4 separate regions of the Homo sapiens genome follow, and all the other regions are linked to region 2. Evidence: promoter capture Hi-C in 16 types of primary human blood cells and fetal thymus (Javierre and others, 2016). All regions are on one chromosome and are shown on one strand. Each heading gives the region's core, a stretch centred on a gene start or on the middle of the fragment in contact. The rest is flanking DNA. Distances are from core to core; before and after follow the strand shown.

Region 1 (6,931 bases), core at 3,663-6,162, 440 kb after region 2:
CCCCATAATCCCCACGTGTCAAGGGAGACACCAGGTGGCGGTAATTGAATCACGGGGGCAGTTCCATGATGGTCTTGTGGTAGTGAGTGAGTTCTCATGAGATCTTGATGGTTTCATAAGCGGCTCTTCCCCCTTCACTGGGCACTTCTCCTTCCTGCTGTCTTGTGAAGAAGGTGGCTTGTTTCCCCTTCCCCTTCTGCCATGATTGTAAAAGTTTCCCGTGGCTTCCCCAGCCATGCTGAACTCTGAGTCAATTAAACCTCTTTCCTTTATAAATTACCCAGTCTCAGGCAGTTCTTTACAGCAGTATGAAAACAGACTGTCCAGGTACGGTGGCTCATGCCTGTAATCCCAGCACTTTGGGGGGCCGAGATGGGCGGATCACAAAGTCAGGAGATCGAGACCATCCTGGCTAACACGGTGAAACCCCGTCTCTACTAAAAATACAAAAAATGAGCCGGGCGTGGTGGCGGGCACCTGTAGTCCCAGCTACTCGGGAGGCTGAGGCAGGAAAATGGCGCGAACCCGGGAGGCGGAGCTTGCAGTGAGCCGAGATCGCGCCACTGCACTCCAGCCTGGGCGACAGTGGGAGACTCCATCTCAAAAAAAAAAGAAAAAAGAAAACAGACTAATACAGTGGGTTTGGACAAAAGTATAATGACTTGTATTCACCATTACAGTATCATACAGACTCGTTTCATTGCCCTAAAAATTTTCTATGCCCTGCCTATTCACCCCTACCTCCTCCCTATCCCCTGGAAACCACTGATATTTTCATTGTCTTTATAGTTTTTTCCTGTTCCAGGATGTCATATAGTAGAAATCATGAAGTATGTAGCCTTTTACGATTGGCATCTGTCATTTAGTAGGATGCATTTAAAGTTTCCTCCATGTCTTTTCATAGACTGATAGCTCATTACTTTTTAGCATTGAATAATGTCCACTGTCTGGATGTACCATCATTTATTTATCCATTCACCTACTGAAAAACATCTTGGTTGCTTCCCAATTGGACAATTATAAATAAAGCTGCTATAAACATCCATGTGCAGGTTTTTGTGTGGACAGAAGTTTATAACTTGTTTGGATAAATACCAAAGAACATGATTGCTGGATTGTATGGTAAGCATATGTTTAGTTGCATGGGAAACTGCCAAACTCTCTTCCAAGGTGGCTGTATCATTTTGCATTCCCACCAATAATGAATGAGGATGTTCCATGTCTTTGCCAGCATTTGGTTGTGTCAGTGTTCTGGATTTTGGCCATTTCTAATAGGTGTAGGGTGGTATCTCACTGTTTTAACTTGCATTTCCCTGATGATATATGATGTGTATCACCCTCTCATATGTTAACCTGGCATCTGTATATCTTCTTTCTTGAGGTGCCTGTTAAGGGCTTGGCCCATTTTTAAAATGGGCTTTCTGTGTCCTTATTGTTGAGTTTTAGGAGTTCTTTGAATATTTTGGATAACAGTCCTTTATCTGATATGTCTCCTGCAACACTCTCCCATAGAGCAGATTTTTTTTTTTTTTAGATTTTTTTTTTTTTGAGACAGAGTCTCACTCTGTCACCCACACTGGAGTGCAGTGGCACCATCACAGCTCACAGCAGCCTCAACCTCACGGACTCAAGTGATCCCCCCACTTCATCCTCCCAAGTAGCTAGGACTGCAGGTATGCACCACTATGCCCAGCTAATCATTTATTTTCTGTAGAAATGGGGGTCTCACTTTGTTGCCTAGGCTGGTCTCAAATTCCTGGGCTCAAGTGATCCTCCCACCTCAGCCTCCCAAAGTGCTGGGATTACAGGTGTGAGCCACCATGCCCAGCCAGAAATTTTCAATTTTAATAAGAATTGCCTTCTTGATTCTTTCTTTCACGGATTATATCTTTTGTTTTGTAATTACAAAGTCATTGTCAAACCAAACGTCATCTAGATTTTCTCCTATGTTATCTTCTAGGTGTTTTATAGTTTTGTCTTTTACATTTAGGTCTGCGATCCATTTTAAGTTAATTTTAGCAAAGCATGTAAGGTCTGTTTCTAAAGTTACTTTTTTGCACATGGATGTCTAGTCATTCCAGAACCATTTGTTGAAAAGACTATCTTTTCTCCATTGAATTGCCTTTGCTCCTTTGATAAAGATCACTTGACAATATTAATGTGAGTCTATTTCTGGGCTCTCTTATTCAGTTCCATTGATCTATTTGTCTGTTCTTTTGCCTGTAGTACACTGTCTTGGTTACTGTAGCTTTACAGTATGTCTTGAAATCAGATGGTGTCAGTCCTCCAACTTTGCTCTTCTTGTTCAATATTATGTTGGCTATACTGGGTCTTTTCCCTGTCCATGTAAACTTTAGAATCAGTTTGTTATATCCACAGAATAAATTGCTGGAATTTTTATTGGGATTGTACTGAATCCAAAGATCAAATTGAGGAAAACTGACATCTTGACAATCTTGAATCTTCCTAGCCCTGTACATGGACTATCTCTCAATTTCTTCAGTTCTTCTATAATTTCTTTCATCAGAGTGTTGTAGTTTTTCTCATATAGATCTTGTACATATTTTGTTAGATTTTTACTCAGTGTTTCATTTCTGAGGGACATAATGTAAATAGTATTGTGTTTTTAATTTCAAATTCCATTTGCTCACTGTTGGTATCTAGGAAAGTGATTGATTTTTTTGTACTCTGCAACCCTGCTATAATCACTTATTACTTCCAGGAATGTTTGTTATCCAATCTTTTGGATTTTCTGCATAGATGATCATGTCAGTTGTGAACAAAATAGTTTTTTTTTCTTCCTTTCCAATATGCATACCTTTTTAGTTTGTTTTTAATTGAATTAGCTAAGACTTCAGCAATGCTGAAAACCAATATGAGAGAAGACGTCCTTGCCTTGTTCCTGGCCTTACTGGGAAAGCGTCAAGTTTCCCACTGTTAAGTATAATGTTAGCTGTAGGATTTTTTGTAGGCATTGTTTATCAGATTGAGGAAGTTCCTCTTTATTCCCAGGTTACTGAGCATTTTTAAAAATTATGAATGAGTGTTGAATTTTGTCAAATACTTTTTCTGCTTCTACTGATATAACTATGTGGTTTTTTCATTAGTCTGTTGATGTAATTGATTACATTAATTAATTTTTGAAATTTGAACTAGACTTGCATACCTGGCATGAATAATTTTTATACTTTGTTTTATACATTACATTATAGTAGTTTAGACATTTTTGGGTTTGATTTCCTAATATGTTTTTGAGAATTTTTGCATCTATGTTCATGAGAGTTATTGGTCTGTAGTTTTGTTTTCTTGTAATGTCTTTAAATGGATTTGGTTATTAGGGTGATCGTGGATTTATCATGAGTTAGAAAGTCCTCCTTCTGTGTCTGTATTCTCAAAGTTCCTCATTCTTTTTAATTTTTGCATTGTATTTTATTGGATGAATGTAACAAAATTTAATCTGACCAAATTGCTTTTGATCTTTTGCTCATTACAAAAAAAAAGCTACAATGAATACCTGTGCACACACACATTCCTTTGCATGACTGTGTGTTTGTCTATAGAAAAAAATTACAATAGTTTGTAACCTAAGTGTCTATCAACAGATGAATGAACAAAAAAAAATTGTTCATATACATAATGGAGTACTATTCTGCCATGAAAAATAATGAGACTCTGTCATTTGCAACAACATGGATGGAACTGGAGGTCATTATGTTAAGTGAAATGGATCAGGCACAGAAAGACAAACTTTGTATGTTCTCACTTATTTGTGGGAGCTAAAAATCAAAACAATTGAACTCATGGAGATAGAGAATAGAAGGATGGTTACCAGAAATTGGGAAGGGTGGCAGGAGTCGGGGGAGAAGTGGGGATGGTTAATGCGTACAAAAAGAACAGAAAGAATGAATGAAACCTAGTATTCAAAGGCACAATAGAGTGAATATAGTCAATGATAAGTTAATTATATATTTTTTAAAAACTAAAAGAGTATAACTGGATTCTTTATAATCCAAAGGACGAATATTTGAGGGAATGGATACTCTATTTTCTATGATGTGATTATTACACATTGCATGCCTGATATCAAAGTATCTCATGTACCCCATAAATATATACAACTACTATGTACTATGTACCGACAAAAATTAAAAATTAAAAAAAGTAATACTAAAAAAGATCGTTTGTAATTTAGTTGATTTCTCTGCTCTTATCTACTATCAGAGCTATAAAGCCCATTGCCACATCTTAGGAAGACAACTTTTCTGAAAAACAAATAGTGATCTATTTCTTGACATGAGTGGGAGTACATGAGCATTTTGTTTTACACAAATATATTAATCTTCACGTTTATCTTTTTCTCATTGTGTGTGTTTGTGTGTGGGGTGGTTGTTATAGTCCACATTTTAAAAGCTAAGAGAAATAAGTCAGCTGGATGTAGCGGCTCATGCCTGTAACCCCACCACTTTGGGAGGCCGAGGTGGGCGAATTGCTTGGGCCCAGGAGTTCGAGACCAGCCTGGGAAACATAGTGAGACCTCGTCTCTACTGAAAATACAAAAATTACCTGGGCTTGGTGGTGCGTGCCTGTAGATCCAGCTGAAGGACTGGGGCTGAGGTGGGAGGATAGCTTGAGCCCGGGAGGCGAAGGCGGCAGTGAGCTATGATTGTGGCACTGCACTCCAGCCTGGGTGACACAGCGAGACCTTGTTTCAAATAAAAGAGGAAAAAACGAAAAATAAGTCAATCGAATTCGGGTCCCCTTTTCTTTATACCAGTAAAGCTTCATAGCTCCTGAAATTAGGCTGCTTGAAGCAGGACACCTTTCATATAGGTGCTGCAATTCTCTAAATTCATACTTGCTAGGACAGGGAGGGTCAAAGGCAGCAGGAGGAAGCCATCCCCGGCATGACTGGCTCGGGTCTCCTGGGCTCGTGAAAACGAACTCATTAGACATCGAGCTCCCTCTTGTGGCAGCTAAAAGAAAACACAAGGAAATGCAACTCTTGCTTCACTCAGTTCTGTGACCGCATTGGGAGATAACCCTTGGAAAGCTTGATTATTTGTGGGCTAGCTCGCCCAGAATACATTTCTAAGCACATCTGTACAAGTAACTTTGTTCTTTCAATGCAGAAAGTCCCCTTCATTCCAAAATGTACATTCCAGAGACGGTGGAGGCTAGAGATCTCTCCTGTATCTCATCCCATTCTATGAGTTACCAGTGCCATTAGACGAAAGAAAGTCCATGTAAATGCTTAGGATGCTGGCGACTGTTCAACTGTGATTCCATTCTATCTTTCCATCTCATGCCTCCTGCGGCTCCAAACACCATCTAGTTAACTGCGTCCCGAATGTTGACCTACACTGATGCTGTTTCATCAGAGTCAATTGGGGAGGTGTTTGTTTGTTTGTTTGTTTGTTTTAATATGGGTTAGGTCACTGCAACATCAAAGCATCTTGATTTATAAAGTTTGGAGCAGAGCACAATAATCTGTGTTTAATCACAGATTAACTTTGTTCCCTTTAGGTATTCCCTGGTAAATTGTAATGTGCAATCAGATTCCCCTGTTTTCTTTTTTTGTTTTGTTTTGTTTTTGAGTCAGGGTCTTGCTCTATGGTCAAGGCTGGAGTGCAGTGGTGCAATCATAGCTCACTGAAGCCTCAACCTCACCAGCTCAAGCGATCATCCCACCTCTGTCTCCCGAGTAGGTGGGACCACAGGAACATGCCACCACACGGGGCTTATTTCTGTGTGAGCCACTGCGCCCAGCAATGATTCCCCTGCTTTCTAGCAGTTGAATAAATACTCTTTTAACTAGAGGACATAATAAGAACTAATATTAGACCATGAGAATTAGAACTAATATTACCTCTTGGAAACACGGATATATCTTTATGGTCCACACCATAGAACAAATGGTCTTTTTTATATGCGGTGGTAACACAGCCATTGGGAGGGAAACATGGGGAGAAGTCCTAGTTAGGAAAGCAAATTTGGAGAGTGAGGCTGTGATCGTGAAATCACAGGTGTGGACAAGCTAAGCTGTCAATACTTTGTTCTTCTGAAAGAAGAGGTTCTCAGCAACAGTGAACAGAATTAATAATTTATCAGAAAAAAGTCCCCCATGCCCTTTACACCTCAATTCTTACCACAAATAGCAAACCAACTAAATCTGGATCTGATTTTTGTATGTACACACAAAGCACATAACAGTTACTGAGAAACACAGTGAAAGAGGAAGGACAACCTCTGATACAAAAAGAGCCAATATCGCCTCCAAAAACTATGTCCCTTACTCTCCCTCCCTCAGGTCCTAACACTAACTTCCTGTCCCAATTTGTAGGGAAGTAGGTGCTCAATGGTTCCTCTTGCCCAGTGTGTTCTCTTCCAGTTGAAATGGCAATCTAGGCATAAAGTTTGGAAGATAGAGTCAAAGAATTAACTACTAATGATGGAGATTTTGTGAGACCCACACAGAGTTGGGAGGCTTGCTGGTTGATAAAACTCCTGGCAATTCATAATGTTTCACCTATTCTAAGTCACACTTGAGCTAATATTATACCAGGTTGTCCCTGTGTTAGTTATCTATTGCTGCAGGCAAATCACCCTCAAAACATGGCTTAAAACAATAGTAATCTAATTTACTATCTGTTACAATTTCTCTGGGTCAGGAATTTGGAAGTTTCTGGCTTGAGTGTTTCTGGATTGAAATCTCTCATGAGTTTGTAGTCAGATGTGAGCTGAGGCTGCAATTATCTGAAGGCTTGACTGAGGCTAGAAAATTCACTTCCAGGTGACATAATCCCATAGATAATGAGTTGTTGCTGGAAAGTTGCTTCCTCACCACAGAACTGCTGGAGTAGTCTCATAACGTGGCTGATGGTATCTCCCAGGATGAGTGATCTGAGGGGGAAAGCGTTAAATGGAAGTTTCA
Region 2 (7,976 bases), core at 2,206-4,705:
GTCCAGAAAAATACCCCCATCCCTGCACCCCGCCACCATGAGGTATAGGAAAATCTTTGTCCCTTTTCTAGTTTGAAGACAGTGAAGTCCTGCCTCTTTCTTGGACTAAGGACGTACCCCATACCCCTTCAGAATTTTCGAAGGACCAAAGAAAAAGTCTCCCTCCTCCTCGAGAAACAGCAAAAAAGCCCCGCGCCCTCTCACCCGGCGTGACTGTGCAGGTACGCGTGGCCACCAGGTGGCGAGCAAGGCAGGTGATGGGGACGCCGCTGAGCCGGGGGTGGGCGGGGACGGCCGCCAGCAGCACAGAGGACACTGGCCCGGCGCGGATGCCTTCGGGGAGACCCTGGAACTGCAGGGAGGCAGCAGGGGCCCCGCCGGGCCACGAGCAGCGGAAGCGGAGGCTGCGGTCCCCGGGACCCCCTTCAACTGAGCACTGTGGGGCCCCGGGGGGCAGGTCTGCGGAGAGAAGGGAGAGAATGAAGATGGAGTCCCTTTCTCATTTCTTCTCCAGCCCCGCCTCCCCGCGCGGTGACTCCACCCTTCTTCACTAGCCCCACCCCATAGGCGCTCACACTCCCCACTTTTCCTGCGATCCCGTTCCCTTTTCCCATTAACTTCCTCGCTAAGTGGGTAGCCCGCAGCCCTGCTGACTGCCCAACTTTCTTAAGAAAACTGCATCTTCACACAATGATATTTCTCTTCCCAAACGTAACTCAGCCCCTTCCTTTCCAGCTCCACCCACTTCTGCCAGGTTACTTCGCCCCCTCCTGGATTGCACTCCGAGAAGCCTCCCCTTTTCCCAGATATCTCCGCCCTTCCTTGTGGACCCCTTCCCCTTTCTAAGACAATTCTGCCCGCTTTCTAAATGACCTCGCCCCTTTCCCTGGTGACTCCGCCCCCCTTGCCAGGTAACTTCTCCCTTTGCTGATCCCACTTAAGCAAATTAGTTCTTTCCTTTTCTAACTCCCACTCTTTGCCATTTAACTCCGCTTGTCGACTTTGTCGAGTGTTCCATGCCCAGGAATGTCCGCCCTCTCAGTGCTGGGCCGGCCCGTCAGTCCTGGTCATCCCTGCCACTCTATTTGGCTCCTTCCCTTATCCTCTTTCTGGCCCCGCCTCTTATCCTAGGTGTCTCCGCCCCTCCGCGCTGGCCCGCCCCACCACGGGTATCCCAGCTCCTTCTTGGTGACCCGCCCTCCCGCTGGCCCTGCCCCACCCACCGGTATGCTGCTCCTCCTTGCTGGCCCCGCCCCTTTCCTCTAGCCCCGCCCTCGTTCTGGCCCCGCCCCTCTCCCAGGCATTCCCCTACTCCCGCTCCAGCCTCTCACCCGCCACTGTAAGGTTGAGCAGCGAGCGGCGGCGGCGGCCGGTACGCGGGTTCGCCGCCAGGCAGGCGTAGGTGCCTGCGTGGCCCGGTCCGACCGCGGGCAGCAGGAGGCGCGACCCCGCGGGCACCGCGGCCTCGGCCGGGTCCGCCAGGCTCCACGTGATGTCGGCGGGCGGCCGCGAGGCGGCGGCGCAGCGCAAGGTCACGTTACTGCCCGCGGTGACAAAGCGGGCAGGCGCGGCGTCGCGGTCCGAGGAGACCGTGATGGTCGGCGGGTCCGGGCCGTCTGGAGGGAGGAGGGGTCGGGACCGCGAGTGTCAGGGTCACCTGGGACGCCGCTAGGACTCCCGGAGACTGGGTCCCCAGCCCGCTTCTCCCCAAGGACCCCCTGTCCCCGACCCGAGGCATCCCCCACTCACAGAAGACGCTGACGTCGGCGGCAGCCTCCCTGTGGCCGAAGGGGCTGCGGACGCGGCAAGTGTACCGGGCGTGGTCGCTGCGCACAGGGCGCACGATGAGCAGCTGGTCGCCCTCTGAGCGCATCCGGGGCGTCTCGGCTCCCTCCGATTCCGCCGCCTCCAGGGCGCGTCCGTCCCGGCTCCAGCTCAGCTCCCCGCGACCTGGCCCCCACCCCAGGCAGCGCAGCCGGAGCTCGGCCGCCCCCTCCTCTGTCTCTGGAGCCTTGGGCTGAACCGACAGCTGGGGTAGGGGCTCTGGGAGAGGGAGAATGGGCTCAGGACCCACCCAGTCCTGGAGCCCATCTTTGGTCCCCTTAGAGGGAACCCCAGCCGCTGCTCCCTCTAAGCCCCTGGAGTCTCAGCCCCCATCCCTCTCCTCTCATAAACCTATGAGTTTGAGCCCCCAGACACCTCCTCTCCGGGACCCAGGAGTTCGCCAGAAGAGGCTCCTAGCCTCCTCCTCCTCCCTCAGACCTGGGAGTTCAGGCTCCCAGGAGTCTCCATCCCAGGTCCACCTTTGCTCAGACACCCCTGCCTTGACCTCTAGCTCTTTTTCTCCCTTCCTCAACCCAGAAGTCCTCTTCTCCTATCCAGGGACCCCACAGCACCGTGACTTGCCCAAAGCCTGGCAGAGCAGAGCAGCCCCTGCCGCCTGCACGCCGGACGCCAGGGCCCACTTACCATACACACCCACCGTGAACTCGTGAGTCTGCTGGGAGACCCCTGCCCGGATGACCTCAGCCGTGTAGACCCCTGCATCGTCCAGCTGGGCAGAGGCGAGCTCCAGAACCCCCCGGGCCTGGTCAAATCGCAGGTGGTCTCGGTGAGCAGGGTCCAGGCTGATCAGAGGTGCCCCTGGCCCCAGGCCCCCAGCTGCCAGCACCTTTGAGCCCCGGCGCCAGACCACCAGAGAGGTGGGGGGCCCAGGGTTGGGGATTGGGACTAGGGGGAGCCGGATGGTGGTCCCCACCAGCACAGCGAGTGGGCCCCCCACCTGCTGGGGAAAGCTTGCAGCTGAGTGGGTCTCTGCAGAAAATTTGGATTCAGGGCTCTGGGCAGAGAGTTTAAGATCCATATCATCCGGGGAGAATTTTGAATCTGGGGCCTCAACAGACAGTTTGGTATGGGAGACTTGAGTAGAAATGTTTGAAGCTGGGGTCTTAACAGTGAAGGAAGGCTTGGGGTCTTTGGCAGGAACTTGAGGATCCGAAATATCAGGAAATACTTCAGAACCAGGGGTTTCAGAGAAGGGGGAAACCGGGCTCAAATCTTGGCCCTCAGCAGAAACATTTGACCAGAAGGACCCAGACATGTTGGAACTCAGGGCCTCAGGAAACCAGCTGGAATCAGAGATTCCAGCAGAGGCTTTTGAATCCAGGAACTGATCTGGAACTTTCCAGCTGGGAGGTTTGATGGAGGGAACTTCCACACCCAGCCCCTGGGAAGAGCTCTTTGAGTCTGAAGAGAAGGCAGAGGAGAAGTTGGTTTGCTGAAGTCCAGAAGAGGCTCTGAGGGTGAGGATCCCTACCAAGGAGGCTGCAGAGAAGAGAGGAAGGCATTGGGGGAGGCTGCTGAGGGAGACTGACAGGGAAGGGACTGAGCAGGGAACTTACCCAGGAGTAGGAAGAGTGGCAGAGCCTGTGGGTTGTCCATGGTGCTGGCCTCACTGAAAGGACACTGGAGAGAGACCCAGGACTGCACCCATCCCTCCCGGGTCAGACGAGTCCAACAGGACTGGTAGCTTAGCTTCCTGGGAGGGGAAGGGAGCCAGACCCAGAGGGAGGTGCCAAGATCCTCAACCCCAGTGTGGTGGCTGAGCTGCCCACCTCATCCCACTCTCTTCATTAGCTGGTCCCATCTGCAGAGAGGCCCAGCCTGATCCCTGCCCTCCCCACCCCCAGGGGGAAGCTGGAGAAAACATTCCCAGCTAAAAATGTGGGAGCAAATTTGTGAGACAAAGCCAGGAAGACTTCCTGGAGGAGGGTGAGGTGACCTTTCCGAGAGCCCCACCTCTGATGGCCACAGCTTCAGAGCAGGCTTCCTCCTCCCCAGCCTCCTGGCTCCTTCCACTCTGTCTTGCCTGCAGCCTCAGATACATCTGACCCTGCTCCTCCTCTGCTCCAAACCCTCCCACGGCTCTCTGTTGCCCTCAGAACCAAGTCTCCAGGTGCTATCTCCTGCCAGGGCCTCTATCCTGAGACCAGAGCTGCATTTCCGCATCCCCGAGGCCCTCACATGGCCTGTGTCCCGCTAAACTCAGACTCTTTCCTCTAACCCAAACTTCCTCACACCTCCAGGATGGCTTCACTGTCTTCGCAAATGCTGGAGAACATTCCCACCTCCTCCCTCCCTGTCACCACTGTCGATCTGAGTCCAACCCTCCTCCCCCTAGTTCTCACTGGCCAGGCTCTGTCTTCTCTTCCTGCCCCGTCTCCCTCCTCTGCCCAGTCTCCTCCATTCCCTGCCAGGGTCCTTCTATACCCAGAGCTGAACCTGCCTCCCCCTGCTCACAGCCCTCCCCTGGCTCCCCAGTGCCCTCTGGAGACATCCAAGGTTCAAAGCAAACTCATGCACAGCCCCCACTCAAGCACTTGAACATCCTGCCATTCTTATCCTGCCCGCCCATCTCACCTCCCAGTCCTCTACCTGGAATGCTCTCTCCCACTCTCCACCTCCCTCCAACCTGGCTAAACCACAACTTGTCCTTCAGGTCTCACCTTATTAAGAACCATAATTACCACTTAATTTGAGCCAGGAACTACGCTAAATGTTTCCTATGCACTATCAGGCTGAACACTTCTAAACACCCTATAAGCTGAGTGTCATTATACTCACTTTGCAGGCCAGGGGACTTAGGCTCAGAGAGGTCAAGGGACCTGCAGGAGGTTGCACAGCCAGAGGGAGAAGCTGGACTTGGGACCAGGATGGTCAGACCATTGACTCCTTCTGATAGCTTTTCCCACCATCCCATGTGGAGCTTAGGGCCTCTGCTCAGCTCCCAGTCCTCTAAGCTTACCCTGGCCCAGTTCTCACCAGTAATAATACTGGTAATATATATATATTTTGAGATGGAGTCTCGTTCTGTCACCCAGTGAGTGCCTCAGCTCACTGCAGGCTCCATCTCCCGGGTTCAAGTGATTCTCCCGTCTCAGCCTCTGCAGCAGCTGGGAGTATAGGTGTGCATCACCACACCAGGCTAATTTTTGTTATTTTTAGGAGAGATGGGGTTTTGCCATGTTGGCCAGGCTTATCATGAACTCCTGACCTCAAGTGATCTGCCCGCCTCAGCCTCCCAGTGTTGGGATTACAGGCGTGAGCCACCGTGCCCGGACTAATATTGGTAATAATATATATTTAGCATTTTTTGCATAGCAGGTGTGGTTATGGGGGTGCTACATAAATTAACCTTTCAAAACTCCATGGAGTAGATGATGTAGCTTAAAGAGGGCTGCAAATTTGAGCGTCCTCCTGTTAAGATGCGGGGTCTATGTCCCCTCTGCTTGGATCTGAGTAGCTGTGTGACTGCTGGACCAAGACGTGGAAGTGGCCCTGTGCCAGGATCTGCATCTAGGCCGGCATATGCCACTTTCTGTATCATAGGACACTCCCTCATGGAATCCAGCCGCCACACTGCGAGGATCAGCAGCCCCATGGAGGGGAATCATGGCCCCTGGTCAGCAGCCCCAGCCAGCTTGCTGGCTATGTGGGTGAGCCCTCTTGGAAGTCAATCCCCTGGCCCCATTTGAGGCACATGAACTGATCCTGAACTGGATCCAGGAATGGATCCAGTGGGATTTGACCCAGGGCCCTGGGACCCAGAACCCATACCCTTAACCTCTACATGATGCTGTTACTATTTTCATCTGCAGATGAGGCAACTGAAACTCAAAATAGGAAGGAACTCACCCAAGATCTAGCTGGCAAAGGTAAGAGTGAGCATATGAAATCAATATATCTGACTCTATCAGAAGGCCAGAGGAATGGAACACAATTTTTTAAATAAAAAATTAGTCCAGGCGCTGTGGCTCACGCTTGTAATCCCAGCACTTTGAGAGGCTGAGGCGGGCGGATCACTTGAGGTCAGGAGTTCAAGACAGCCTGGGCAACATGGTGAAACCCCGTCTCTACTAAAAGTACAAAAATTAGCCGGGTGTGGTGGTGCAAGCCTGGGCAACAGAGCGAGACTCTGTCTCAAAAAACATAATTAAAAAAAAATTAACCTGACTGTAGACCCAGGCTGTTCATTGCAACGCTAAGTTTTGATTCTCTGTGGCTTGTCTGTCTCACACCAGAACCACAGCTTCTGGCCTCATTCTCTCCTGTGTCCCTGCTGAGACTGGGGACACAAGAGAGAATGAGTGTCCTGCAAACATCGTGGATAAAAGCCCTTCTTCTCACCCACCTCACTGATATTTGTGTTCCAACACTCAACTTGGAAGTCATCTCCCTGGGAAATCTCTGACCCCACCGGCTGGGCCAGGCCAGGTCCCCCAGTTGGGTTCCCAAGGGCCCAGTGTGCCTCCACGTCTAGCATACTTCACCCCGAATTACAGCTGCCTTTGTCCTCATTGTCCCCCGCATCAATACAGAGGCTCCTCATGGGCAGGGACTGGATCCACAGGGCCTGGCACACAAAAGACTCAAGTAAATGTTGAATGAACCAAATAATGGGTCTCTAGGAAATAAGTTAACAGAGATAGATGTTGAGAGTCAGTTTTATTGCCATCTCTGGGAGGGGCTCAAATCCGCCCAATCTCCTTCAGCTTGGCCACCAGGTCCTCAGTGGTCTCCACCTTGACGCCGGCCGTGCGCTGGGGCGGGTCCTCCACACTGATCACAGAGAGCTTGGAGGTCAGGTCCACACCCAGGTCCCCAGGCTTGATCACCTCGATCTTCTTCTTCTTGGCTTTCTGCACATGGGAAGCCATTGTTCACAGGGCTGTGGAACTCCTGCCACCCTTCCTGCCACCTCCTTCCCATGGGTGCCAGGCCTGCAGACCAGTCCCATGGGCTGAACCCTCTGGACCCACCCACTGGCCAGGACACGCGAAACTTCTCACAGGGCCACACCTGGTGTGGACAACTCCTGCTGGCTAGGAGGCCCTGGGAGGCCCAACTACTGCAGCAGTCCTCCTTTAGGTAACCAAATCAGGAAGCCCTTCACTGGCTGCAACAGAGTGGCAAACCCATCCTTTTGGTAGTAATGACTCAGTGGACTTTTGGTTGAGATGGCATGCTGAAGGCTCCCAATAGGCTGAGATGATGCACTGAACCCTCCCTATAGACTGAGATGATGCGCTGAACCCTCCCTATAGGCTGAGATGATGCGCTGAACCCTCCCTATAGGCTGAGATGATGCGCTGAACCCTCCCTATAGGCTGAGATGATGCGCTGAACCCTCCCTATAGGCTGAGATGATGCGCTGAACCCTCCCTATAGGCTGAGATGATGCGCTGAACCCTCCCTATAGACTGAGATGATGCGCAGAACCCTCCCTATAGGCTGAGATGATGCGCTGAACCCTCCCTATAGGCTGAGATGATGCGCTGAACCCTCCCTATAGGCTGAGATGATGCGCTGAACCCTGCCTATAGACTGAGATGATGCGCTGAACCCTCCCTATAGGCTGAGATGATGCGCAGAACCCTCCCTATAGGTTGAGATGATGCGCTGAACCCTCCCTATAGACTGAGATGATGTGCTGAACCCTCCCTATAGACTGAGATGATGCGCAGAACCCTCCCTATAGGTTGAGATGATGCGCTGAACCCTCCCTATAGGCTGAGATGATGCGCTGAACCCTCCCTATAGGCTGAGATGATGTAGTGAACACTCTGTAATGGCTGAAATGACTCATTGAACCCTCCCCATTAGTTGAGATGATCCAGTGAACCCTCCCTGTTGGCTGAGATGAATATTCTCTATTGGCGGAGATGACCCACTAAACTGTTAATATTGGCCAAGATGACCCAGCGAACCCATCTACTGGCCATGATGATTAGTGAACTCTACCTGTTAGCCAAGAGACCCCATGCACCCTTCCTAGTTAACTAAGATGATCTACATGGTAACTTCACATTGGCAAAAATTACCAAGGGGACCCTCCCTAATGAACCTAGATGACCCAGTGAACTTGTTCCACTGGCTGGAATGACAAAGGGAACACCTTCTGCTGCCCAGCGAAGGCT
Region 3 (3,115 bases), core at 10-2,509, 270 kb after region 2:
GAGGGGGTCACAGGCTGGGCACTCAGGCAGCAGGTGGTGTGCCAGGATAAAGGAGTATTCTGTGAAAGTCACACTGTGAACATGATGGCCAGATCTCTGGGGTTCCCATTCAAGGCCGGGCTAGATTTTATGACCACTCCCCAAAGAGAGACCTCAACACCAAATAAGAGAAAAATACAACAAATGGTTCCCACAGGGAAGTTGGGCTGATGTGACATTTATCAATTCATCCTTTTATAATCCACTCCTCCTAAGGACAGGCCATAGGCTGCCTAGGTCAGGGTCTATGTCTGATTTCTCACACTGTACGTGCCCAGGAACCGGCACAGGGCAGACAGGGCTGGGTTCAAATCCCGGCCCCACCTGTCCATATACATTTCCTGTGAACTCAACTATTCGCTCATTCTTTCAAAATTTTGTAATACTATGATTGATCAGACCATATTGAGGACTTACTAATCACATTGAATCATCACCAAAAAAAAACCCACAACAGTATAAAAGATATTCTAATTATCCCCACCTTACACACAGGGAAACTGAGGTGGAGAGAGGTTAAGTAGCTTGCCCAGGGTTATTCATCTAATACATGGCGAGGCCAGGATTCGAACTCAGCCCTGTCTCCCCTGTTTCAGGTTCTGGGCACGTACAGTGTGAGAAATCAGACATAGACCCTGACCTAGGCAGGAGGAGCGGATTATTGATGAAGCAAATGTATACCTTCGGCATAGGTTACAAGGTGTCTTATGTGCAAACCAGAAAAGAGATGGCAATTCTGATCCTGGACCCAGTTTCCATGAAAGAGAAACAAAATGGAGCAGATCCTGTCCCCAGCAAAGATGGTAACCAGATACAAGTAAGCAATTTCTTTCCTCTCCCACCTTCACCCATATCCCTACCCATCACGCTATGGAAAATATGTTGAAAGCAACGTGAGTCTTCAAACAGTAGCTCAGAAGTTTTCTTTTTGAGACAGAGTTTCACTCTGTCATCCAGGCTGGAGGGCAGTGGTGTGATTTCGTCTCACTGCAACCTCCCGTCCCTGGCTCAAGCAATCCTCCCACCTCAGCTTCCTGAGTAGCTGAGACCACAGGCACAAGCCACCATGCCCAGCTAATTTTTGTAAAGACAGGGTTTCGCCACGTTACCCAGGTTGGTCTCAAACTCCTGGGCTAAGCGACTGGCCCAGCTTAGCCTTCCAGAGTGGTGGGATTACAGGTGTGAGCCACCACACCTGGCCATACAGTTTTTTTAAAAGGACTCCGCAGTTAGGGAAAAATGGCTTCATTGTGTCAGAAAAAAATAGACTTTCTGGAGAGAGCTGCTTATATTAGGCACAAGAAAGATGAAATAAAATGAAAAAGTGGCTATGCACACCAGCATTATGCAGGCAAAGGAAGAAATAAAGACATATGTCTATCAATAGGTGTGCGGTATATGAAATAAAAAGGGTGAAATTGACAACTGAAAGAAAAGGCACAGCTCAGATTAGTAAATAGGACAATGCAGTATGTTCACCCTTTCACTCAATAGCTCTTTGCTGAGTGCTTTCTTTGGGCTAGATGCCGTTCGTATAAATGAGGACATAAAGCAGACTGAAACCACCCAAATACCTCCCCGTCATGCAGTTCCTTGTTAGACAGAAGGAAAAGTAATACTGGGTAACAGTTATAAGTGAGCTCCCTGTGAGCTTGCCACTTTACTAAGCACTCCTTGTAACAATCCGAGACAGATACTAGCATATTAATAACCCAATTTCTATAGGAGAAAACAAAAAAACAGAGAGGTTCATTAGCTTATCCAAGGTCACACAGCTTGCAAGTGGGTGAATCTAGAACCTGAATGCAGGACGTCAAACTCCAGGGACCATGCTGTGCCTCGCTTTACCATTCTGCCTATGGCATGAAAGTGTGCAGAATGGTTAAAGGTAAAATAAAGGAGAAAACAAAGCTCTCTCTACCATAGTTCTTGTCAAAAGAGTGAATTCATACACCGGCTCTGTTCTCCAAGACCTACCAATGATGGAACTAAAGATGGAGCTCCTGGGTGAACAAAACTTTACAAATCAATTTATGATCAATCAATCACACTGATATCCCTAGGGGAAAGTTAAGGCTCATTTGAAGAAAAGGGGTGGGAGAACTGGGCGGGGGGACAGCTGGCTTGTTGAGAGGATGGGTTAGCCCAAACATACTTGAATTCTGCTCCTTTCTCTCCTCTACCCTTCCAGTGGGACAAACATTGTCTGCCCCTCACTGCAGAATTCAGAGTATGGACAGGATTATGATGTGCCAGTGTCCAACAGGCATGTGTTGGGTAAGCACCAGAGGCCCACTGGGGTGAGGAGAAGGAGAACGGAGGTGGAAGCTCACTGGTCTTTGACATTCTCCTTGCCATTTTCTCCACTCCAAACTCCCAGGGCTGGTGGATCACAATGCAACGAGAGTCCTTGACCAATGTTGCTTCTCCACGAGGGTCTGAAGATGGAGGGATGACTTAAGCTGCCTTACTGGGGTGATAGGAAGTGGGACTGGTTGGGTGTGGTTTGGGTTCTTGAGGGGATCCACCCTGGGGCTTGTCCCAGTCATTTCTCTTTTTTTGAGACGATGCTTCACTGTTGTTGCCCAGGCTGGAGTGCAATGGCATGATCTCGGCTCACTGCAACCTCCACCTCCCAGGTTCAAGAGATTCCCCTGCCTCAGCCTCCCGAGTAGCTGGGATTACAGGCATGTGCCACCACACCTGGCTAATTTTGTATTTTTAGTAGAGACGGAGTTTCTCCATGTTGGTTGGGCTGGCCTCAAACTCCCGACCTCAGGTGATCTGCCCACCTCGGCCTCCCAAAGTGCTGGGATTATAGGCGTGAGCCACCGTGCCCGGCGTCCCTGTCATTTCTTTGGCTCAGTAAGCCTGACACAGGCCAGCATCTGCCCTTCCCTCATTCAAGAAACACTGCCAGAGTAGCCAATAACCCCAGGGGAATGTGAGCTCACAGCTCAGAAGGCTGGGCACCTTTGAAGAAAAGCAAACCAACAGAACCTGATAGACCACTAGAAGCACAAGTACTAGGACGCTTTGGTCAAGAAGCTAAACTGAGCATATTACATGCACTAAA
Region 4 (7,511 bases), core at 2,271-4,770, 330 kb after region 2:
TTCACCTTACTGCGCAGTTCTGGTACTAAATAGATGCTCACTTTGCCAGCAAAAGGTCCTAGTGTTGGCTGGGTGCGGTGGCTCACACCTGTGATCCCAGCACTTTGGGAGGCTGAGGCAGGCAGATCACGAGGTCAGGAGTTTGAGACCAGCCTGGCCAATATGGTGAAACCCTGTCTCTACTAAAAATACAAAAATTAGCCAGGCGTGGTGGCGTGTGCCTGTAGTCCCAGCTACACAGGAGGCTGAGGCAGAAGAATCGCTTGAACCCAGGAGGCGGAGGTTGCAGTGAGCTGAGATCATGCCACACTATACTCCAGCCTGGGCGACAGAGCAAGACTCTGACTCAAAAAAAAAAAAAAGGTCCTAGTTTTAGTGATGTTGCCAAGTTATTAAGGTTCCTTCCTCACTAATCGAAACTAATACAAGGAAAGGATTACTTCCTCTTTGGGAAATCTGGTCAAGCTGATGATCCAATTTAATTAAAACAATACCACAAATTGAATCTTTGTTTACTGCTTGAAAAGCTACTTTCTAGATCCTTTTGTAGTTCATAAGTGTGAGGACTGGGTTTTCAGGCTCGTGTATAAGATGTGCCTCCCTCACTCCTTGTTACAACATCGGCATATTACTCATCTGAATGGAAAAAAAAAAGCTTCTGAATAGTTTCAGAAGTAGATGTTAAGATTCATCTTAAAGTAGTCATATAGGTCAAGAAATGAAACATACACAATATTTCAGAATCCCCTGCATGTGGCTTCCCCAGTAATAATCCATGCCTCCCTCCAGAAGTCAGTAACATTCTAACTTTTTGATAATTTTGCGCTCACTTTTCTTTTTATTGCTATTAGTTATGTAGTTTTCTTTTTCTTTTCTTTTTTTTTTTTTGAGATGGAGTTTCACTTTTGTTGCCCAGGCTGGAGTGCAATAGTGCGATCTTGGCTCACCGCAATCTCCGCCTCTTGGGTTCAAATGATTCTCCTGCCTCAGCCTCCTGAGTAGCTGGGATTACAGGCATGCACCACCATGACCAGCTAATTTTGTATTTTTAGTAGAGAAGGGGTTTCTCCATGTTGGTCAGGCTGGTCTCCAACTCCTGACCTCAGGTGATCTGCCTGCCTTGTGCCTCCCAAAGTTCTGGGATTACAGGCATGAGCCACTGTGCCCAGCATAATAGTTTTCTTTTAGCTATTTTTAAGATTACATATTTACATGTATGGAACAAGATTCCATGTGTTCATTTGATTTTGCAAATTTTTATAATATCACATTGATGACAATATTCTATGTATTCATATAGCTGTATTTCATTTTTTCATTGCTGAATAGTATTCCATTATGTGGATATACCACACTTCATCGATCCACTTGCCTTGTAAGTGGGAGCTAAATGATGAGAACACATAGAGGGGAACAACACACACTGGGGCCTACTGGAGGGTGGAGGGTGGGAGGAGGGAGAGGATCAGGAAACATAACTAACGAATACTAGGTTTAATACTTGGGTGATGAAGTAATCTGTATAACAAACCACCAGGACACAAGTTTGCCTATGCAACAAACCTGCACATATACCCCAAACTTAAAATAAAAGTTTTAAAAAAGTGTATTCAAGAGTTGAGATTTAGCACAATTAATAGCTTTTACTGTTTCATCAAGTGCAATCTTAAATGAAGCTGGAATTTTCCTTAACAGTGAGTGTGAAGTGATAAAGAATACAACTTTCTAGCACAATTTAGTGCTATTACCTTGCTTCCGGCTAAGGTTACAGCCCTTTTATGTACCATTGCTTTTGCACCAGCAATGTAATGTCAACACAGAGAAAAACGCAAATAACATCTGTGTATTATTACTAAAATAGTTTTGACCTTGAAGATGCCCCCTGAAAGAATCTTGGTATCTCCTAGTAGAACCCTGTCTCTAGAGGATGCATCTTAGAGGAACTTCTGTATATATGTCAGTATGCCTGTGTACAGATGCTCCTTAACTTATGGTGGAGTTTCATCCTGATAAATCTGTCATAAATTGAAAATATAGTAAGTCAGAAGTAATTTTCTACTTAATATTTTCCATGTATGATGGGATTATACTGAATGTGTACTCAGTATACTGAGTACTGAATGTGTATGGCTTTTGCACTATCGTAAAGATGAAAAATTATAACTTGAATCATCATAAGTCAGGGATGGTCTGTATGTAAGTGTGTGTATATATCTCCTACTTCAGTAGATAATGCTAAAAAATTTTCCCAAACAATTGCATGAATTTACACTCCCAAAAGTGTACAATATGAGAGTTACCATTGCCCCACATCCTTGCCAACCCTTGGTACTTTCCATTTTTAGCAATCTGATGAGTATGTAATGGTATCCACTATGACACTGATTGGTTTCTACCTCTAAAGAGGTCGAGGACCTTTTCTTATACAATTGGAGTTCATTGGATTTTCTTCTTGTAAAGTCACTTTTGAAGTGATTGGCCAATTTTGCTATTGGATTGCCTGATTTTTTTTTCTAATTGGATTTGTATATTCCTCAGTTGATGAGAATTGTTATGGATAAAGGTAGAATTTCATCAGACTCATTTCCACCTTCCATGGGATGGTCATATTATGTTTTTTTCTTGTATTTGAGCTTGTGATAAATACACTAAATGAGTTTCTAATGTTAAACCACCCTTGCATTCCTGACATAAACACATCTTGGCTATGATGCATTATCATATTTATATCTAGCTCTATTTAATTTGCAAACTCTGGCTTAATATTTGTGCCACTATATGCCTAATTAAGATTTGCCTATACTTTTATTTTTTTATATTGTTGAGTTTGGGTATTAATTTTATAATTAGCCACAGAAAATGAGCAAGAGTTTGAATAGGAATAGAGTAATTTCTTCCTTAAGTTTTGGTACAATTTGCTGGTATACTTAAAGTTTAGCCATCTTGACCTAAAGTTTGCTTGGTGAGATGATTTTTACTACTGATTCTTCCGAATAGTTTTAGAACTATTCAGGTTTTCTACTTGTTTTCTGAGGCTATTATACTAAATTACATATTTTTATTAATTTATCCATTAATCTAAATGTCAAAGTATGTGAAATTGTTCAAAATATTATCGTATATTCTCAATGTCTGCAACATCAGTGGTTATGTCCTTTATTTCTGACATTAGTTACATGTGCCTTCTCTCTTTTCATTGTATTTAGACTCCCCAGAGGTTTATCAATTTTATTACTTTTTCACCAAACAAGTTAGGGCTTTGTTGATTCTGTTGTATGCATTTTAAAACATGTATTATTTAGTACTTATTTTATTATTTTCTTATGTCTACTTTCTTGAGTTTTTTTATCTCTTGAGAAGAAAGATCGAATTCAGTTTATCTTATTTCAATTCCAGTAATATGATTTTAAGCTATTCATATCTGTCTTAGTCCATTTAGTCTTGCTAAAAAAGCAATACCTGATGCTGGGTAATTTATACAGAAAAGAGGTGTATTTGGCTCACAGTTCTGCAGGCTGTATAGAAAGCATGGAACCAGCATCTGCTTCTGGTGAGGCCTCAGGCCGCTTCTACTCATGGCAGAAGGTAAAGGGGAGCCACCACGTGCAAAGATCACATGAGGAGAGAGAAAGCAAGAGATAGGGACAGTGCAGGTGGCAGGTTCTTTTTAACAACCGCTCTTGTAAGAATTAATAGAGCAAGAACTCACCCATTACCAAGAGGACAGTACCAAGCCATTCATGAGGCACCCACTCCCATAACCCAAACATCTCCCATTAGGTTCCATCTCTAATACTGGATAAAATTTCTTAATTTTCTTTTTTTTTTTTTTTTTTTTATTATACTCTAAGTTTTAGGGAACATGTGCACATTGTGCAGGTTAGTTACATATGTATACATGTGCCATGCTGGTGCGCTGCACCCACTAATGTGTCATCTAGCATTAGGTATATCTCCCAATGCTATCCCTCCCCCCTCCCCCGACCCCACCACAGTCCCCAGAGTGTGATATTCCCCTTCCTGTGTCCATGTGATCTCATTGTTCAATTCCCACCTATGAGTGAGAATATGCGGTGTTTGGTTTTTTGTTCTTGCGATAGTTTACTGAGAATGATGGTTTCCAATTTCATCCATGTCCCTACAAAGGATATGAACTCATCATTTTTTATGGCTGCACAGTATTCCATGGTGTATATGTGCCACATTTTCTTAATCCAGTCTATCATTGTTGGACATTTGGGTTGGTTCCAAGTCTTTGCTATTGTGAATAGTGCCGCAATAAACATACGTGTGCATGTGTCTTTATAGCAGCATGATTTATACTCATTTGGGTATATACCCAGTAATGGGATGGCTGGGTCAAATGGTATTTCTAGTTCTAGATCCCTGAGGAATCACCACACTGACTTCCACAATGGTTGAACTAGTTTACAGTCCCACCAACAGTGTAAAAGTGTTCCTATTTCTCCGCATCCTCTCCAGCACCTGTTGTTTCCTGACTTTTTAATGATTGCCATTCTAACTGGTGTGAGATGATATCTCATAGTGGTTTTGATTTGCATTTCTCTGATGGCCAGTGATGATGAGCATTTCTTCATGTGTTTTTTGGCTGCATAAATGTCTTCTTTTGAGAAGTGTCTGTTCATGTCCTTCGCCCACTTTTTGATGGGGTTGTTTGTTTTTTTCTTGTAAATTTGTTTGAGTTCATTGTAGATTCTGGATATTAGCCCTTTGTCAGATGAGTAGGTTGCGAAAATTTTCTCCCATGTTGTAGGTTGCCTGTTCACTCTGATGGTAGTTTCTTTTGCTGTGCAGAAGCTCTTTAGTTTAATTAGATCCCATTTGTCAATTTTGTCTTTTGTTGCCATTGCTTTTGGTGTTTTGGACATGAAGTCCTTGCCCACGCCTATGTCCTGAGATTCAATGCCATCCCCATCAAGCTACCAATGACTTTCTTCACAGAATTGGAAAAAACTACTTTAAAGTTCATATGGAACCAAAAAAGAGCCCGCATTGCCAAGTCAATCCTAAGCCAAAAGAACAAAGCTGGAGGCATCACACTACCTGACTTCAAACTATACTACAAGGCTACAGTAACCAAAACAGCATGGTACTGGTACCAAAACAGAGATATAGATCAATGGAACAGAACAGAGCCCTCAGAAATAATGCCGCATATCTACAACTATCTGATCTTTGACAAACCTGAGAAAAACAAGCAATGGGGAAAGGATTCCCTATTTAATAAATGGTGCTGGGAAAACTGGCTAGCCATATGTAGAAAGCTGAAACTGGATCCCTTCCTTACACCTTATACAAAAATCAATTCAAGATGGATTAAAGATTTAAACGTTAAACCTAAAACCATAAAAACCCTAGAAGAAAACCTAGGCATAATTTTCAACCTTTCAAGAGTTCAATAATATTTTTGTTTCAGATCTCCATCTTAACAACAAAGTGATCAGAAAATATACTTTTTGTGATATAAATCCCTTAAACTGTGTTGAGATTTTCTCAATGGCTCAGTCTCTGATCAAGTTGTACAAATATTCTGTGTGTGCTTTAATAATGCATGTATTGTTGCTGTTGTGAGTGTACTGTTTTGTCTTTTGTTTAAGTCAATTTGTTGATGATGTTGTGTAGATTTTCTTCATCTTCACTGACTTTTTTCATGTTTAATTTACTCATTAATGAAAGAGATATGTTAAAAAATTTCCCACTATGATTATGAATTTGGACATTTTCTGTAGTTCTGACAACTTTGGATTTATATATTTTGAGGCTGCATTATTTAGTGCATACTAATTAGGTTTTTAAATGTTCTGATGAAATTATTATCATTGTGATATGATCATCATTACTGGTAAGTATTTTGCCTAAACACTTTGCCTAAATAAATTTTACTTTAGCTGATGTCAATATATCTACCCAGGTTTATTTTGGTTAGTATTTGCTGCATTATATATAAATTTTCATCTTTTTTCTTTGACATTCCTGTATCACTATGTTTTAGATGTGTCTCTTGTAAATGGCATACAGTTGGATTTCTTTTGGCGCAGTCTAGCAAACTGATTTTAACTGAAGCCTTACATTACACTTAATGCAATTACTAATATATTTGAATTTAAATCTATTATTTTTGTACCTGCTTTGTGTTCTGCGTTTTTTTTTTTTTGTTTTTTTGGTTTTTTTTTTTTTTGCCTTTTCAATGATTCCTTTTTTCCTCTTTCTGGCCTACATTTGGACTGCTGGAGTAATTTCTATTCTTCTTAGTTCATTTCTTTCCCACAAGTTTAAAAGTTTTGCACTCTATTGCTAAGTTTATTAGTTATTCTTTAAAAAACATATAATACACAGTTAATAAAGTCTAAAGTTAGTGACCTTTTAAAGCTTCTCCAATATAAGATAGGACATTAGAACCCTTTACTCAGTTTGCACATTCCAATATATTACTATTTTCTTATTTTACATGTGTCTTATACTTAAGCCTCTTACTCATTTTTATTGTTATGATTACTCAAATTATTACTAATGGTGAAATAACAGAGAGTGAAGGTGGAGGGCAAAGCATTGGGAAATTAAGTGGCACTCAGTCACCTTGGTGATAAAGGTTATTATGAAGACTGTGTGGCAGACAGGCTGCCTCTGACCAACTTGAAGACCAAACAAAAAGGAAAAGATAGCTGGGCACGGTGGCTCACGCCTGCAATCACAGCACTTTGGGAGGCCGAGGCGGGTGGATCACGAGGTCAGGAGTTCAAGACCAGCCTGACCTACATGGTGAAACCCCGTCTCTACTAAAAATACAAAATTTAGCCAGGTGTGGTGGCACACACCTGTAATCCCAGCTACTCAGGAGGCTGAGGCAGGAGAATTGCTTGTGAACCAGGAGGCGGAGGTTGCAGTGAGCCAAGATCGCACCACTGCACTCCAGCCTGGGCAACAGAGTGAGACTCCTTCTCAAAAAAAAAAAAAAAAAAAAAAAAACAGATAAATGAGTCCTTGCATGCCCAACTTAAGAGATATGTTAGAAACATCAGAAAGCATCTATGGCTACCTTAAAAGAATCCCTTATCTTTTTTACCATGCCAGCTAAATGCACAACCCCTCCAGTTCCCACACACTAAACAAGAAAATAATTTTAAGGCCAATAAAATACAACTGTGGGCCTCATTACCCAGAAGCAGGTGACTTGATGTATTGATGAAATGACCTACTGAAGGCAAGTTATAGTGCCATCTGGCGGTGAATATTTGGTGAGGTTGGGTGAGGTGCTATCGAACAGTATTTGCCTTAAACCAGCACCAATATACAGTGCCATTTCTCCCAGAGCCAGAATACACAATGTGAAAACCAAGCAGTGGAGGTAGTGAGAGGTGAAGCCAGCTGGGCTTCTGGGTCGGGTGCGGACTTGGAGAACTTTTCTGTCTAGCTAGAGGATTGTAAACACACCAATCACCACTCTGTAAAAACGCACTAATCAGCATTCTGTGTCTAGCTAAAGGTTTGTA

What was found. Contacts are between HindIII fragments. The CHiCAGO score rates a contact against its expected background, and 5 or more counts as called.
Region 1: a contact is called between a fragment that was not itself captured here and the fragment with the promoter of VSIG10L in region 2, in 7 of 17 cell types (naive B cells, total B cells, activated CD4 T cells and 4 more). The highest score is 10.6, in naive B cells.
Region 3: a contact is called between a fragment that was not itself captured here and the fragment with the promoter of VSIG10L in region 2, in 5 of 17 cell types (naive B cells, total B cells, megakaryocytes and 2 more). The highest score is 8.2, in naive B cells.
Region 4: a contact is called between a fragment that was not itself captured here and the fragment with the promoter of VSIG10L in region 2, in 5 of 17 cell types (naive B cells, total B cells, erythroblasts and 2 more). The highest score is 7.8, in naive B cells.

Annotation. Positions count from the first base shown.
Region 1 is chr19:51,773,082-51,780,012 of GRCh38, forward strand. It overlaps LOC105372448 (a long non-coding RNA gene), which reads right to left. Exons shown (of 3, transcript XR_936049.2): 3 at 6,618-6,900. Among named protein-coding and RNA genes, the nearest start is that of FPR2, 15 kb to the left of the region's middle. RefSeq lists a silencer at 4,735-5,029. The HindIII fragment of the contact is 271 bases long and covers 4,778-5,048 here.
Region 2 is chr19:51,338,684-51,346,659 of GRCh38, forward strand. It overlaps VSIG10L (V-set and immunoglobulin domain containing 10 like), which reads right to left and starts at 3,456. Exons shown (of 10, transcript NM_001163922.3): 1 at 3,402-3,456; 2 at 2,470-3,324; 3 at 1,750-2,043; 4 at 1,332-1,616; 5 at 205-459. The coding sequence starts at 3,441. It overlaps VSIG10L-AS1 (VSIG10L antisense RNA 1), which reads left to right and starts at 1,337. Exons shown (of 5, transcript NR_186316.1): 1 at 1,337-2,034; 2 at 2,383-2,491; 3 at 3,167-3,302; 4 at 5,005-5,128; 5 at 5,389-6,012. It overlaps ETFB (electron transfer flavoprotein subunit beta), which reads right to left. Exons shown (of 6, transcript NM_001985.3): 6 at 6,486-6,698. The coding sequence ends at 6,528. RefSeq lists silencers at 231-570, 1,221-1,490 and enhancers at 5,679-5,768, 5,899-5,998. The HindIII fragment of the contact is 2,004 bases long and covers 2,794-4,797 here.
Region 3 is chr19:51,613,194-51,616,308 of GRCh38, forward strand. The region is part of intron 8 of SIGLEC5 (sialic acid binding Ig like lectin 5); the gene reads right to left. It overlaps LOC124904753 (a long non-coding RNA gene), which reads left to right. Exons shown (of 3, transcript XR_007067313.1): 2 at 636-856; 3 at 2,231-2,523. Among named protein-coding and RNA genes, the nearest start is that of SIGLEC5, 16 kb to the right of the region's middle. RefSeq lists a silencer at 2,474-2,623. The HindIII fragment of the contact is 7,305 bases long and covers 1-3,115 here.
Region 4 is chr19:51,668,867-51,676,377 of GRCh38, forward strand. It overlaps LOC124904796 (small nucleolar RNA U13), which reads left to right and starts at 539; the gene lies at 539-642. The HindIII fragment of the contact is 5,735 bases long and covers 654-6,388 here.